2 separate regions of the Homo sapiens genome follow, and region 1 is linked to region 2. Evidence: promoter capture Hi-C in 16 types of primary human blood cells and fetal thymus (Javierre and others, 2016). All regions are on one chromosome and are shown on one strand. Each heading gives the region's core, a stretch centred on a gene start or on the middle of the fragment in contact. The rest is flanking DNA. Distances are from core to core; before and after follow the strand shown.

Region 1 (6,275 bases), core at 3,050-5,549, 580 kb after region 2:
ATGATGATCCCAAAGTCAAACTCAGCAAAAATCCAAAGGTTCATCCAATCAAAATCACTAATACAGACAAGGATCATTCAGAAGAAATATGCCACCGGAGAAGTGGCCACTGAATGGCCTCAAAATCATTTGCGAAATGTTGTGAGGTCTGTGCATTTTTCTAAAGACAAGGTAAATGTCTTTTATCCGATTATTTAGACTCTTAAAAAACAGAAAAGGTAAGGTTGGGGCTCCTGGGAGGTCTTAGGGAAGAAAAGGAGAAGCTCGTAGTCAATGGTTCCTAAGAGAGCTTCAGGTCCCAGGAACTACCCGGGAAAGTGAACCCCCGTGACCTGGCTTGACACCACAAAGACAAGGCTGGTATAGTTTGCTGAATTTCAGCCAATAAAACAATGCTGTAAAAAAAAGGCACTGACAAAAAACAGACACAAGGTAAGAGCTAACATGTTTGCCCACGGCTGCACAGCAGCAAGGGACAGGATCTATCCGGTGAGGAAAGAAAATGTGAACCTCTGAGCAAAACGATTATAACTGGAGGAAGCCAGGGGATCTCTAGGGTCAAAAGCCAACAGGGACAATTAAAACTCAGCTGTGGATGTGTCAAAATAGTGTACTGTCCCGGGCAGCTTACCTGGGACCCTGAGCTCCTTTCCAAAGGGCTAGTTCTCTATCCCATGAGGGTATCTTCCCAGATCTAGGCATCAGCAGACACTACCATGCAGAAACTTGAAAAATGAAGCCATTGTGAGTTATTAGCATTGCATGAGTCATTGTTCAGTGCATAAATTCATGGACAAATCAATATACAAACAAAAGAACACAAATTGTTAACTGTGGCTAATATAGGTACCATTTTAAGTCCCTACTATGTGTCAGGGTCTGAGACAGAAGCATTCCTCATCTTCACAATAACCCTACAAGACAGTTACTATAGTACCCATTTTACAGATGAGGATCCTGAGACCCAAAGAGATGAAGGGACTTATCTACATTCACACAATGAGAAGTGATGGAATTTGAAACCAGGTTTGTCTGAGTGGAGTATCCAGGTGCTTGCCACAATGCTACACTACCTCACAATATCTGTAATTTAGTTAGAGCATTGAATGTGTGTTAGGCATTTTGCATTTACTATCCTTAGTTCTTACAACAATCCTTGAGATAAGTATTATTGTCTTTATGTCTTTTTTTTATGAGAAAGACAAGTAATTTTTCAAAGGGCACATTTTGAACACAGATTTTTTTTTTCTTGGAGACAGGGTCACACTCTGTCACCCAGGATAGAGTGCAGTGGTGCAATCATGGCTCACTGCAGATTGACCTCCTGGGCTCAAGTTATCCTTCCCACCTCAGCCTCCTGAGTAGCTAGCACCACAGTTGTGTACCACCATGCCAAGCTAATTTTGTTATCTTTATATTTTGTACAGATGGGGTCTCACTATGTAGCTCAGGTAGGTGTCAAACTCATAGGCTCAACTGATCCTCCCACCTCAGCCTCCCAAAGTGCTGGGATTACAGGTGTGAGCCACTGCACCTGGGCCTGAATACAGATTTTTGAATCCAGATCTCCTTGGCGCTAAGCTCCTGGTCTTTCCACCAAATCTGCTGCCTATCCAATTCAATTTGATTTTTGAAAATATGTTGATTTTGTCTTATTTTCACAAGCATTGTACTAAGCTTCTATAGAGAAATGCCAGCTCCTGTCCTCAAGGAACTTTTTGTCTACTTAAGAGATTAGATTATATGGTACAGAAAAATGATGATCATAACTATATAGCTGTGGAGGTTTTAAAACACAGCTGCAACTTCTGAGACTTCTTACATGGAGAGATGACCCCTACCCTTGCATGTGGGCAAGCTTGTACTGTTCAGAGCCACAGAGCAGAGCAGAAGGGGTACTATGTTGCTTTTAAGTCCATTCATAAAAAGCCATGCTACTTCTGAGTTGTTCTGAGTTGCTGCACACCTCTTCTCAGAGTGTGGAGCAACCATGTGAGAAGTTAGACTACTCAGAGGCCACCATGTTGTGAGGAAGCTCAAGCCACATAGAGGTCACATGTGTAGACACCCTGCTCAACAGTCCCAGCTGAGCCCAGACTTCAAGTCATCCCAGCCTAGGTGCCAGACATGTGAGTGAACAGCCTGCTGGGGATTCTAGCACCCAGGTATTCAAGTCTCTCCTGGTCATTCCAGACTCTGCAGATGATGCCTCAGACTGTATGGAGCAGAAATAAGCCATCTCTACTGCACTACGACGTAGAGAATCATTGAGCATGATAAAATGGTTGTCACTTTAGAACACTAAGTTTTGGGGTGGATTGTTAAGCAGCAAAATATAGCCATAATAATGGCTTTTGGAGTGATTATTTAATGCCAGACACTGTCCTCTAAGCTTGACATGTATTACCTCATTTGATCTTCCTAGTAAGCCAGGGAAGCAGGTTACTATTAAAGACCATGCCTAAGATTACTTAGCTACTAATGGCATTCAAAACCAGGTCACACTAACTCCAGCATCAAAGCATCAATAATCTAAACTGCTGTACTATAGAGGAAGCAAAATTATGTCTCTGAATAAAACCTACAAAGCCCCAAGCCAATCAGTTTTAAGAAACACCGACTGCTATTTTTTTAAACTAAACATCTTTTTTTTTCTTAATTTCAGAAGGCTTACTGTGGAGCTGAGCTAATTATTTGAGCCTTAATCAAGGACCAGCCACTTCCCGAAGCAGCTGTCCTGGCCTCTCTCTTGCCTCTAGAAAGTCTCTTGAATTGGATATTGGCTCAGGTCTAAACCCCAAATCCCAGCCCCCAGAAGTGAGGATGCATAGGGCTGAAAGGATCCTTGGAGATCATCCAGTCTACTTCCCTCATCCCCTTTAAAGATCAGGAAACTGAGGCCCAGGGAGGTCAAATGACTTGTCCAAGGTCACATGGTGTGTCAGAGGTACGGCCAGGTCGCCAAATTCCCAGGCAAGCATTCTTTCCACTACACCATGCTGCAGTTGCTAAAAATTCCCCAGAGCCGCCTCCCTCGGCCCTCCTCTCGACAAAGCTATTTTCCCCCCACACAACTACACACAGTCACATTTGGCAAGAGGTGCTATCAGCCCTGCTCTGCTCGTGAAATGCTGTTTTGCAATGGGGCCTCTTTGTTCGTTAGCAACACAGACAAAGAAAACTGTAGTGCAGTCTTCTTGGAAGAAGATGTTTCTTGTTTTAAAGACGGGAAGAGAGCTTCCTGACTGAATATGGCTTGAATCAGCATGCAGCTCCAGTCAGGAAAGAACCCAGAGGAGACTTAGGTCTTTGCAAAATTTCTAGAATGTACAAGGAGGGCACACGGCAGGGGGAAGCTTATGGGAAATGTTTCAGAAAGTACTAAAATGTATGCCTAAACAGAGTAAACAGAGCAGATTGGTTACCATCTTGTGCTATGAAGCAATTAGAAGGGGAGGGGTGTTGGTAGGGAACTAGAGTCATTAAAAGCTCCCATGAAGCAACTGGCCTTCCCATTTTTGGATTCCTGCTCCAGTCCTGGTTCCCAGTGTTCCTTCCCTTGCCGTTTTCTTCAGCTGGGATCTTCCCTCTCTAGACTCGAAATAAGCTGCAGGCTTGGTGCTGAGAGCCCTCAGGATATGATCTGCCATCCCGAGTCACCCATCTGGTGCCTCTCCCCTCTGCTTCCACATGATTCCCTATTTTTTTTTGTACTAGATGTGGTCCCTCTTCTGTCTCCCTAGCTTCCCAGATTGGCAGAGGCTTCCCATGGCTCTGCATGATCTTTGCACAGGATGAGGCAGAAATGAAGGCACCTTTTCATAAGGGCAGACCACACCAGGAAGCTGAGGTCCTCTCTGGTGACCTTTCTAATGCATTTCCCTTTGGAGATGGGTTGAGATCAGTGGGGAGGGAGTAGACCAGATGATCTCCAGTGATACCTCAAAAGCCTGAAAATCTCTTGGCTAGGGAAGCCAACAAGAGGGGGAGGAACAGAACCAAGTTCTGTGGCACAAATTCAGAACTTGTACGCTGGCAGCAGATGGAAAGGGAGGTGCCAGCTTCTAGCAGGAGGGGATGTGGTGGACGCGTTTCTCAGGGCGGTTGCAAGCCACAAGTCTTGCATTCCAAAGGACCTGGTGAATGCTGCCTGAGAACCTGCCTCTGACACAGCCACAGCATAGGTCTCCAGGCACCAGGTGAGATCTCCAAAAAGAAACTCCACTGGCCAAGTGAAGGTTCTTAGACCCTTTCTCCCAGAGCAGGGTCTTCCCCATCGCCTACCCCATGCTTAGGCAAACTTGCCCAAAGTACAAATTTTATTCCAAATCCCCCTCCCTCATTTTCCCCTAGGAAAATTCCTCCTGCTGAGTTAAACCTAAGAGAGAAAAATAAAGATATTACCACTCAGGGAAACAATGTCCTAGGGGTCCCTTGCAGCCGAGGAGGGGAAGGGAAGCTGGCCCCCTAAAGAAGGCCCTGTATCTCCTCATGGCCTCAAATGCTGCTGTGCTGTGTGTCAGTGTTTATGAAATGCTTCTCAAATAAGGTCAGTGTTCTACACAGAGTTAGAACTCTAATAAAATGCAGAACTTGTGCTGTTTGCCAGCTAGCTGCAGAGGCATACTTGAATGCTTTCTCAGATACAATTGTTCTCAGATTAATATTTCCCCCTTGAGTTTTTTTTTAATTCCACTTGTACTATTTTTTTATGATGTGGGAGGCTTTCTACATATTTGTACCCACTAAAAGGGATGAGGGGGCTTGCTTTCATCAATGATTCCTGAGGGTTTGGTGCTACATCCTTCATGGTTCTAGCATTTCTCCCAACCCATAAATCTCCCTGCTCTGAACCTAGCATGGTAGCCTTTGCCTTGTCAGTCATTTAGAGGGAGAGACAGTCCAGACTAACTTTGAAGTTAGTTTGAACTGTTCTAGTTACCAGAACATTTCACTTGCTTTATTCATTGTGGTAGACACTCAATAAATGGCCCCTTTAAATGACTCCATCCTTCATGGATTCCCTTATTTGGTCCTACTGTCTTGGACACTGTCACTTATTAATTACCCAGTCCTCTAAACTCCACCTGGTTAAGCTGCTGACATGGCTGGTATGAGGTTATATTTTAATTTGTAAAAGATGCATCTTGTTAAATGAAAAGGAAACTGGAACAAGAGTTTGAAGACATGGGTGACTCTGAGCAAGGCTTTGGAGCTCCCTGAGTTTCTTCATCTGTAAATGAAAGCTTCTAAAATATACCCTGATCGTCTTCCAGATACAGGATTTAGTGGTTCAATTCAGATATTGTGGGTGGACTCATTAAGGTATTCGCATAGCACTAAATTTAGAAGGCATTTGGAGACATCTGATCTCATTTAAACCTTGCATCAGCCCCCTGAGATGAGTGTTATTTCTCCCATTCCAAAGGTTATAGATGAGACTATGGAGACCGCAAAGGTACTCAGACAGGTCGGGCAGTTAGAAAGTGACAGAAGCCAGGATTCAGCCTAGGTCTTTCTACTCATTTCGGCTTACATCCAAATTGTACTCCCCCTTGGCTTCTCACTAATTCCACTTAGAATCCCCATACTCAGAACACTTTCTACCTACATTCTAGAGCTGGAGAGAGAAGAAGAGGAGAGAAAGAATGTCAGCAAAGTACTAGATAGTCCAGAAATTTCTGCAACACATTATTGAACAGGACAGCTCTCCAATGAGATCATCACTGCTGCGCTTTTTAATTACAAAATGATCTGTCCTATTTGGGATACAGGGAGTTCAGGAGTATGTCTAAGTAATTCATCATTTATAGAGTCCAGCCCTGGGGCACTTTTACATGCTACCCTGGACATGATAAAAGATTTCAGATGGCCATAAAGACGAAGTCTGAGGTTGTTTCCAGGGCAGAACTCTGAGTTCTTGCAAGTCTGCAGTCTCCAGTGAAGGTCCAGGCCATGAAATCCAATTTCAGGACCTGGGGTTCTGATGGTGACAGTCCAAATTCAATACTAAGGCTATGGAGAATACATAGAGGGCAGTAGAGGGCAAGAAGCCAAGCTAGAAGGATTAAGGCAGGAGCCAGGAGTAGCTAAAGCTCAGGGAGAGATGCAAACATGCACAATTCTATGGTCAAGTCATAAAACTCCGATTAGAAGAGGATCATGGACTCCACAGCATGCAGACATACCTGAGTTAGGGCATTCACTAGGGCACACACTAGGGCATATGCTAGGGCACATACTAGGGCATATGCTAGAACATACACCAGGGCATA
Region 2 (6,536 bases), core at 29-2,528:
ATTGACATGATGTTCAGAATCTTGAGAACAAAGTTCAAACAAGTGGCCTTATCCTGCAGTAGCTCTGAAGATACTCTCTTTGCTCTGACACTGACGGTCAGGTCATGCTTCATAGTACAGTCAAGTGTAGCTGGAAGAAGCCTGGACTTCAAACCCAGCTCTACTACTTTCAGACTCAGGCCAGTTTTAAAGAGAAGGAAGCAAGAATCAGAATGTGAAACAGTTTACCTTATCTTTAGAATGGGGATGATACTACCCATCTCATAAGCTGATTATAAAAATCAGAGAAGAAAATAAATGCATAAGCTCCAGATGAGTGCCTGGCCTTTATTGATGATTCAAAAGAGAACTATACTATGTATGGAATTGAGAATGTTACAAATGCAGTCACAGTTCTAGGAGAATGACTGAAGTTTCTTGGCAGTTCACAGTGCCATAGACTGATAATCCTGGATCAAACTAGCAACATACCACCTGTTACTGATGGCCTATTCCACACCCAGGTATGAGGGACCACCATGCAAGGGTAAAGGTGAAAGGCAGCAGTATGCCAGCTTATTGAGTGCTCACTGAATGCCAGGTATCATCCTAGTGTATTGCGTACATTACTGTACATTTGATTCTTACGGCAAACCTATGAGACAGGTCCTAGTTTGCAGCTGGGAAGACAGATGAAATTACTAGCAATGGCTACACAGCTAGTAAATGACAAAGCTGGAATCCACACCTGCTTCTCTGTGTAATTGCACAGTCTGAATTTTCTCTGCTGAATCCATACAAGGGAGTTTGAGAGGATCCACACATCCTGAGTATGTCTGCTGTTAATCTCTATTCTCCCCTCCTATTATTTTTTTTGTGTGTGTGGGTGCCCTGTGACTGAATTTATAACATTCTCAATTCCATACATAGTATAGTTCTCTTTTGAATCATCAGTAAAGGCCAGGCACTCATCTGGACCTTATGCATTTAGTCTCTTCTCTGATTTTTATAATCAGCTTATGAAATGACGGTGTATGGGTCTGGGACTCAGTGGTAAGTTTAAGACTTTGGAGGTGGCTGGCTTCAAAGGGAATCCTTTGGCTCTCTTGTCCCAGGCCCATAGGTGGCACTCTGACACCATCTGCTAGAAGCACAGCCATCGTCTAGAAATACATCAGGTAGTCCCATTCCCCAGAATGAGGCTGCCTCTAAGCCTGTCACTACGCACACACAATCCCACTGGGGGCAGAGACCTGGGGATGCCAGCTCACTCTCACTCCACCTGCATCAGATGTGTGCATTAGACAGGCTGTGGGGCTGTCCTGAAACTCTGCGCTTGCCCAGTGCCTTTGGATGGGTGCCCTGGGAAGGCTGGAAGCTGGGCGGGCCCTGCAGAAGAGGATGGAGCCACAGCTTTGCTGATTCCAGTGAAGCCCAAGGAAGGGCTCAGCTATCCAGGAAACCCTCCAGGGGAAAAGGATTGGGTTCTGGAATCACAAAGCCCAGGGTCTTAATCACAGCTCTACTGCTTACAAGCTTCGGACATTGAGTTGAACTCTTGACAGTCTGAGGCCCAGTCTCCATATCCGTAAAAAGGGAATAATGAGGCCTTCTTAGGTTTGCTGGGGGTGTTTGAACAGGTGAGTAAAATGCCAAGCACAGTACTTGGCACAGTCTGTACTCGGTAGGTGCTGGTGAGAGGCACATGGTCGATATCCACAGGGGTCAGCAGAGGGGCATGACACCGTGCTCTGGGTGAAAGAAGGAAGGACTGTCTTGGAGGTAGTCTGGGAGGACAGAGGGGAGAACTGGGATCTCATCCTCTTGCTGGCTGATCTTAGCCGATCAACCTTTTGGGTGAGTTTGCAGCCCCTAGGCCTTTCAATCCCCAATCCCTATATTTACATCAAGCTGGAACCAGCACTTTCAAGGCTGGTTGCTCTGAGGGTGGGGTTTGGCAGGGGCATGGTGGGGTGGAGGTTCTGGAAATCCCTTTAGAAGGGAAATTGGGAGAGTGGGCTCAAGGGATGCCTCTACTTGGAAACACTTTTTCTCTGAGACTTAATTTCTCCATGTTTCACAAAGAAAATACAAATGTTACATTTCCTCTTTCTCTCTGGACATCCTTGTCAAGACCATATGGGGGCCTCTCTGACTGGCAGCTCCCGCTAGTTCAGAGAACAGTGTTACTGGCAAATGCTGCTTTGGAGTGGTGACCTGTGCGATGGACTCATCCAGGCTGTCCCTTGGAGAAGGGAGGGTACGCAGGGCATGGTGCCCCTCTCTAGGGCCAGGGCTGAAGGAGGAGCCTGAGGCATGAACACGGGGGGGCAGGGCCTCCAGCATACCTTGTAGCTGTAGGGGCAGGCACAGCGGTACAGCTCCACAGGGTCCTGGGTGCATGTCCCGTTATTCTTGCACGGGCTGGAGAGGCAGGCATTGCATTTGGCCACAATGTTGATGTCCACTGGCCCTGGGCAGCAAAACCAGAGTACTGATGGCAGGTCCTGAGTGCGCTCACTGCCATACCTCCCTTCCCCTCTGCTCTGGGCCCTCCCTCAGCCAGCGCCAGCCCCTTCCCAACTCCATGCCCAGATGGCAGCTGGCTCTCCTCAGCCAGCACATCCAGTCCAGCTAGAGTCCCATTAATTCAGCCACTGTCCAGTGAGGAAAAATCACAGTGGGACATCATTCAGAAACACTTCTGCAGTCAAATCAATTACTGTAATTAGCCTGATCCGATTTTGGTGCTAATCTGCAAACAATGCACCATAATTAGAAACCCCCTGTGTATCTTTTCATATTCCAGGAAGCTCTGGGCCCAGGCTCCATTCGGACCTCCCATTTTTCTACCCACAAACACCCCTCCCCATGGAATAGTCTGTGCCAGGCTAAGCAGGGCACAGTGCTTGGGCCAAAGGCACACAGAGGAAGTCCCCCCTGGAAAACCTTGGAAGAAAGAAATGGATGGCCCCAGAGGACACAGCGATGATGCTGACAATGGACAGAAAACTGCTCAGGTACATGTTACGTCTGTGACCGTTTCAGCCGTGTGCTTGCTTTAGCTGCGAGCACTGGAGGGAGGTCAGGGTCCTTCCCAGAGCTTTGCAAAGGGGGCTGTGTCCTGCTGCTGCAGCCAGCTTTGACAATGAGCCCTGGATAAACAGGCCATATTTAGTGTCAGGACTATAAATGACCTTGGGGTTAACAGTTATCAACTTGGAGATGGGCTGAGATGAACTTCAGTGAGTGACTGTTTGTGGATGAGTAAAAAGAATGGCCTGATTGAGAGCTGGTACCAGGGGCTCAACCCGACTTCACATTAGAAGAGGAAGACTATCTGTCTTGGTTTGCTTGGGGCTGAGGGGGTTTGCAGGACACAGAGCTTTCAGTGCTAAAACCAAGAATGGCCCAGACAAAACCCAGATGACTTAGCTGCCTTACACTACCAGCTACAGTGTTGTTTTCTGTTTGTTTTTTTTTTTTTTTGAGATGGAGTCTCACTCTGTTGCCCAGGCTGGAGTGTGGTGGTGCAATTTCGGCTCACAGCAACCTCCACCTCCTGGATTCAAGCAGTTCTGCCTCAGCCTCCCAAGTAGCTGGGATTACAAGCATGCGCCACCACACCTGGCTAATTTTTGTATTTTTAGTAGAGATGGGGTTTCCCCTTGTTGGGCAGACTGGTCTTGAACTCCTGACCTCAAGTGATCTGCCCGCCTCAGCCTCCCAAAGTACTGGGATTAGAGGCATGAGCCACCGTGCCCGGACCCTGGCTGCAGTGCTTTTAAAAGTCCCCACACCCAGGTTGTACCCCAGACCAATTTAATCTAAACCTAGAGGGTGGAGCCAGGCTTCAGTAATTTTAAAAGCTCCTGTATGATGTCCAAATGTGCAGCCAAGATTGAGACCTATACTGTTCTTGGCCTAGGTGAGCCTCTTTAGTATCAGATCAGATAGCTTAGAAGCAGGAGGAGGAAAATTAAAATTAGCTTTAAGCCAATGGAATGTTTTTCTGCTTGCAGCAGAAGTGTAGGACACACTAAAGTTTGAGAGGGTAATTAAAGTGTATCTATATATCAAAATAAGTATTAAGCCTCTCAGAGATGAGCAAAAGAGATTATCAAACAACTGTGTATACAAATGAAAAGTACGTTTTTGATGAAAAATTCAGGTTCCCCAATAATCAAAGACAAAATAAAAGGAGTTTTTTTTTTTTAACCTATTGAATTAGCAATGAGAAAATAAGAGAAAATAATGAGAGTCTAATGAAAAATGCAACCAAAGGATGCTACTGGGAATGTAAATTGGTTATAACCCTTTTTGAAAATCAATTTGGCAAAATGTGTGAAGACCTTAAAAATAATAATGTACTTTGATTCAGTAATTTCTATTCTCTGAGTCTTATCTGAGGACATGATTTCAAACAGAGAAAGATCTTTATGTGTCAATGGTAAGACAAAAAAATGGAAATACTCGAAAGATTCAAAACCAGAAATGGATTAAGTGGCAGTGGAGTATTATGGCTTGGTGATAAAGACTGCGCATTCTGGAATCAGATGGACCTGGAAGCCTGGTAAGCCTCAATTTTCTCATTTTTAAAAATGAGGATAATATTAAAAGTTGATCACATAGAGGTATTAGAGAATTAAATAAGTTGTTACATGAAGAATGAGAAGAAAATACATGAGACAGTGCTTACCATCATTCCTGTTGCATACAAACTCAGTAGTAGTTTGTTGTTATAATATGATCAATAAAAAAATCACATGTACAAAAGTTTGCTGGATAAAATGGGAAAATGCTTATGTTTTAATAATGTTGGATTAAAAAATGCAGGTTGAAGATTTTTCTCAAGGCCAGGTGCAGTGGCTTATGCCTGTAATCCCAGCATTTTGGGGGGCCAAAACAGGAGGATCGTTGGAGATCAGGAGTTTGAGACCAGCCTGTGCAACATAGTGAGACCTTGTCTCTACAAAAGATGAAAAAAAAAAAAAGATATTCTCCACTATGGAAAGACATGTACAGAAAGAAGTCAGTGAGGAGATGTGTGGCAATGCCAGCAGGGAACTTGGAGAGAATGACACTTGGCCCATTAGATGAGGGTTCACATCAGCGTCAGCATCTGAGCCTCTTTGTGGGACCCATGGAAGAGACAGGGTGAAGGTTTCTGAAGCCACATCTGTTGAGATACCCTGCTCTGACAGGTTGCTGGGAACACAGCAGACCCCAAGAGGGGCAGGGGAGGGTGGGGTGTGGGCGTCACCTACCTTTGCACTGGAAGCGGTGGGTTGGGGTGGTGAGCAGGAGCCTGTCAGCCATGGGCTCAGGGCTACTGCAGCGGGCGATGCCAGGCTCCTTGTACCCCGCCTTCACCCACTCCGACAGCCACCGAAGACTGCAGTCACAGTGGAGTGGGTTGGTTCCCAGCGCCCTAGGAGGCAGAACAGGAAGTCAGGGCCCCCTGCCCAGCTTGGCCAGTAGCCTTCATATCCTTGGCTCTCTGGAAATGCATTTTCAGACTTTGGCTAGACTGGAGGTATCCAATATGGGGCCAGCGGAGTAGTCGTCTCCACTGTGGCAAAGTTAATATCTCCAGAGTGTACTTCCAATCCTGTGGAAGTTTCAACTCCCATCCCAGCCCCTTCCACTTCTGAGGCGTGGCTCTCACCTACGCAAGTAAGACTCACTCTTCAACTCAACCCCATCCTAGCTCCTTTAGGGAGCTTCCTGGATCACTGGCCATCTGATTATCTGGTTCCCTTGCCCTGTTGAAGGGTCCACTGGAGGATATACTCTGCAGAGAAGGTTCTGAAACCCAGCAACCTAGGGAGCAGCTTCAAACCACTTGGCTAGACTTTCATCCCAGTTGTGACTGGGACGAAAATACTAGAAATTCTGTTTTTTTTTTTAAATTATATCCTTTAACAATTCTACTTTTGAAAGTTTTAGAATATGCATACGTAGTATATCCGTATTATAGTGTATGCACACATTATGAAAATAATTAAATATGCATATAGAAGGAATACAAACTCGAAAATGTTCACTGACAGAGGTGTATAAAAAAATGTAGAGATTCCTGATCTGTGGAAGAGAGGTCTGGCCTGGGAGTGAGGGAATCTAGATTCTAGTCCAACATCTCACTGACCTGATAGTCAAACTTTAGCTAGTCACCTAATATTTATGGGCCTCAGTTTTTCCTGTGTAAAATAAGAAGGGAATACCTGTTGCAGAGTGCAAAGTGGTTAAGAATATGTGCTTTGGAGTCAAGGCAAACCTAGATCTGATCCTGGGCCCTGCCATCTGCTAGCTGTGCCATGCTTAGACACAATGTTATTATATATAATAAAAGGATAAAAATGCCTTACAGTTGTAAGAAATAAATAGAAAACTTATCTAAAGTGTTTACCCCATAGTACATGTTTTCTATTAGTTCTTATTAAATATTTACAGTGTTTACATAATTGAGGATTCCTTTGAAGGCTTCTGAGGTGGGAAACAAGACAATATGCATAGTGTGGATACATAGTTGTATAATATACTGTATGCATAAGGAA

What was found. Contacts are between HindIII fragments. The CHiCAGO score rates a contact against its expected background, and 5 or more counts as called.
Region 1: a contact is called between a fragment that was not itself captured here and the fragment with the promoter of SLIT3-AS2 in region 2, in 4 of 17 cell types (M1 macrophages, M0 macrophages, M2 macrophages and 1 more). The highest score is 7.8, in M1 macrophages.

The regions. Positions count from the first base shown.
Region 1 is chr5:169,283,677-169,289,951 of GRCh38, forward strand. All of the region lies in intron 1 of SLIT3 (slit guidance ligand 3), which reads right to left. Among named protein-coding and RNA genes, the nearest start is that of SLIT3, 14 kb to the right of the region's middle. The HindIII fragment of the contact is 1,890 bases long and covers 3,355-5,244 here.
Region 2 is chr5:168,705,649-168,712,184 of GRCh38, forward strand. It overlaps SLIT3-AS2 (SLIT3 antisense RNA 2), which reads left to right and starts at 1,279. Exons shown (of 7, transcript NR_130737.1): 1 at 1,279-1,619; 2 at 2,789-2,999; 3 at 4,407-4,552. It overlaps SLIT3 (slit guidance ligand 3), which reads right to left. Exons shown (of 36, transcript NM_003062.4): 25 at 5,247-5,410; 26 at 2,328-2,452. RefSeq lists an enhancer at 6,464-6,536. The HindIII fragment of the contact is 12,206 bases long and covers 1-1,513 here.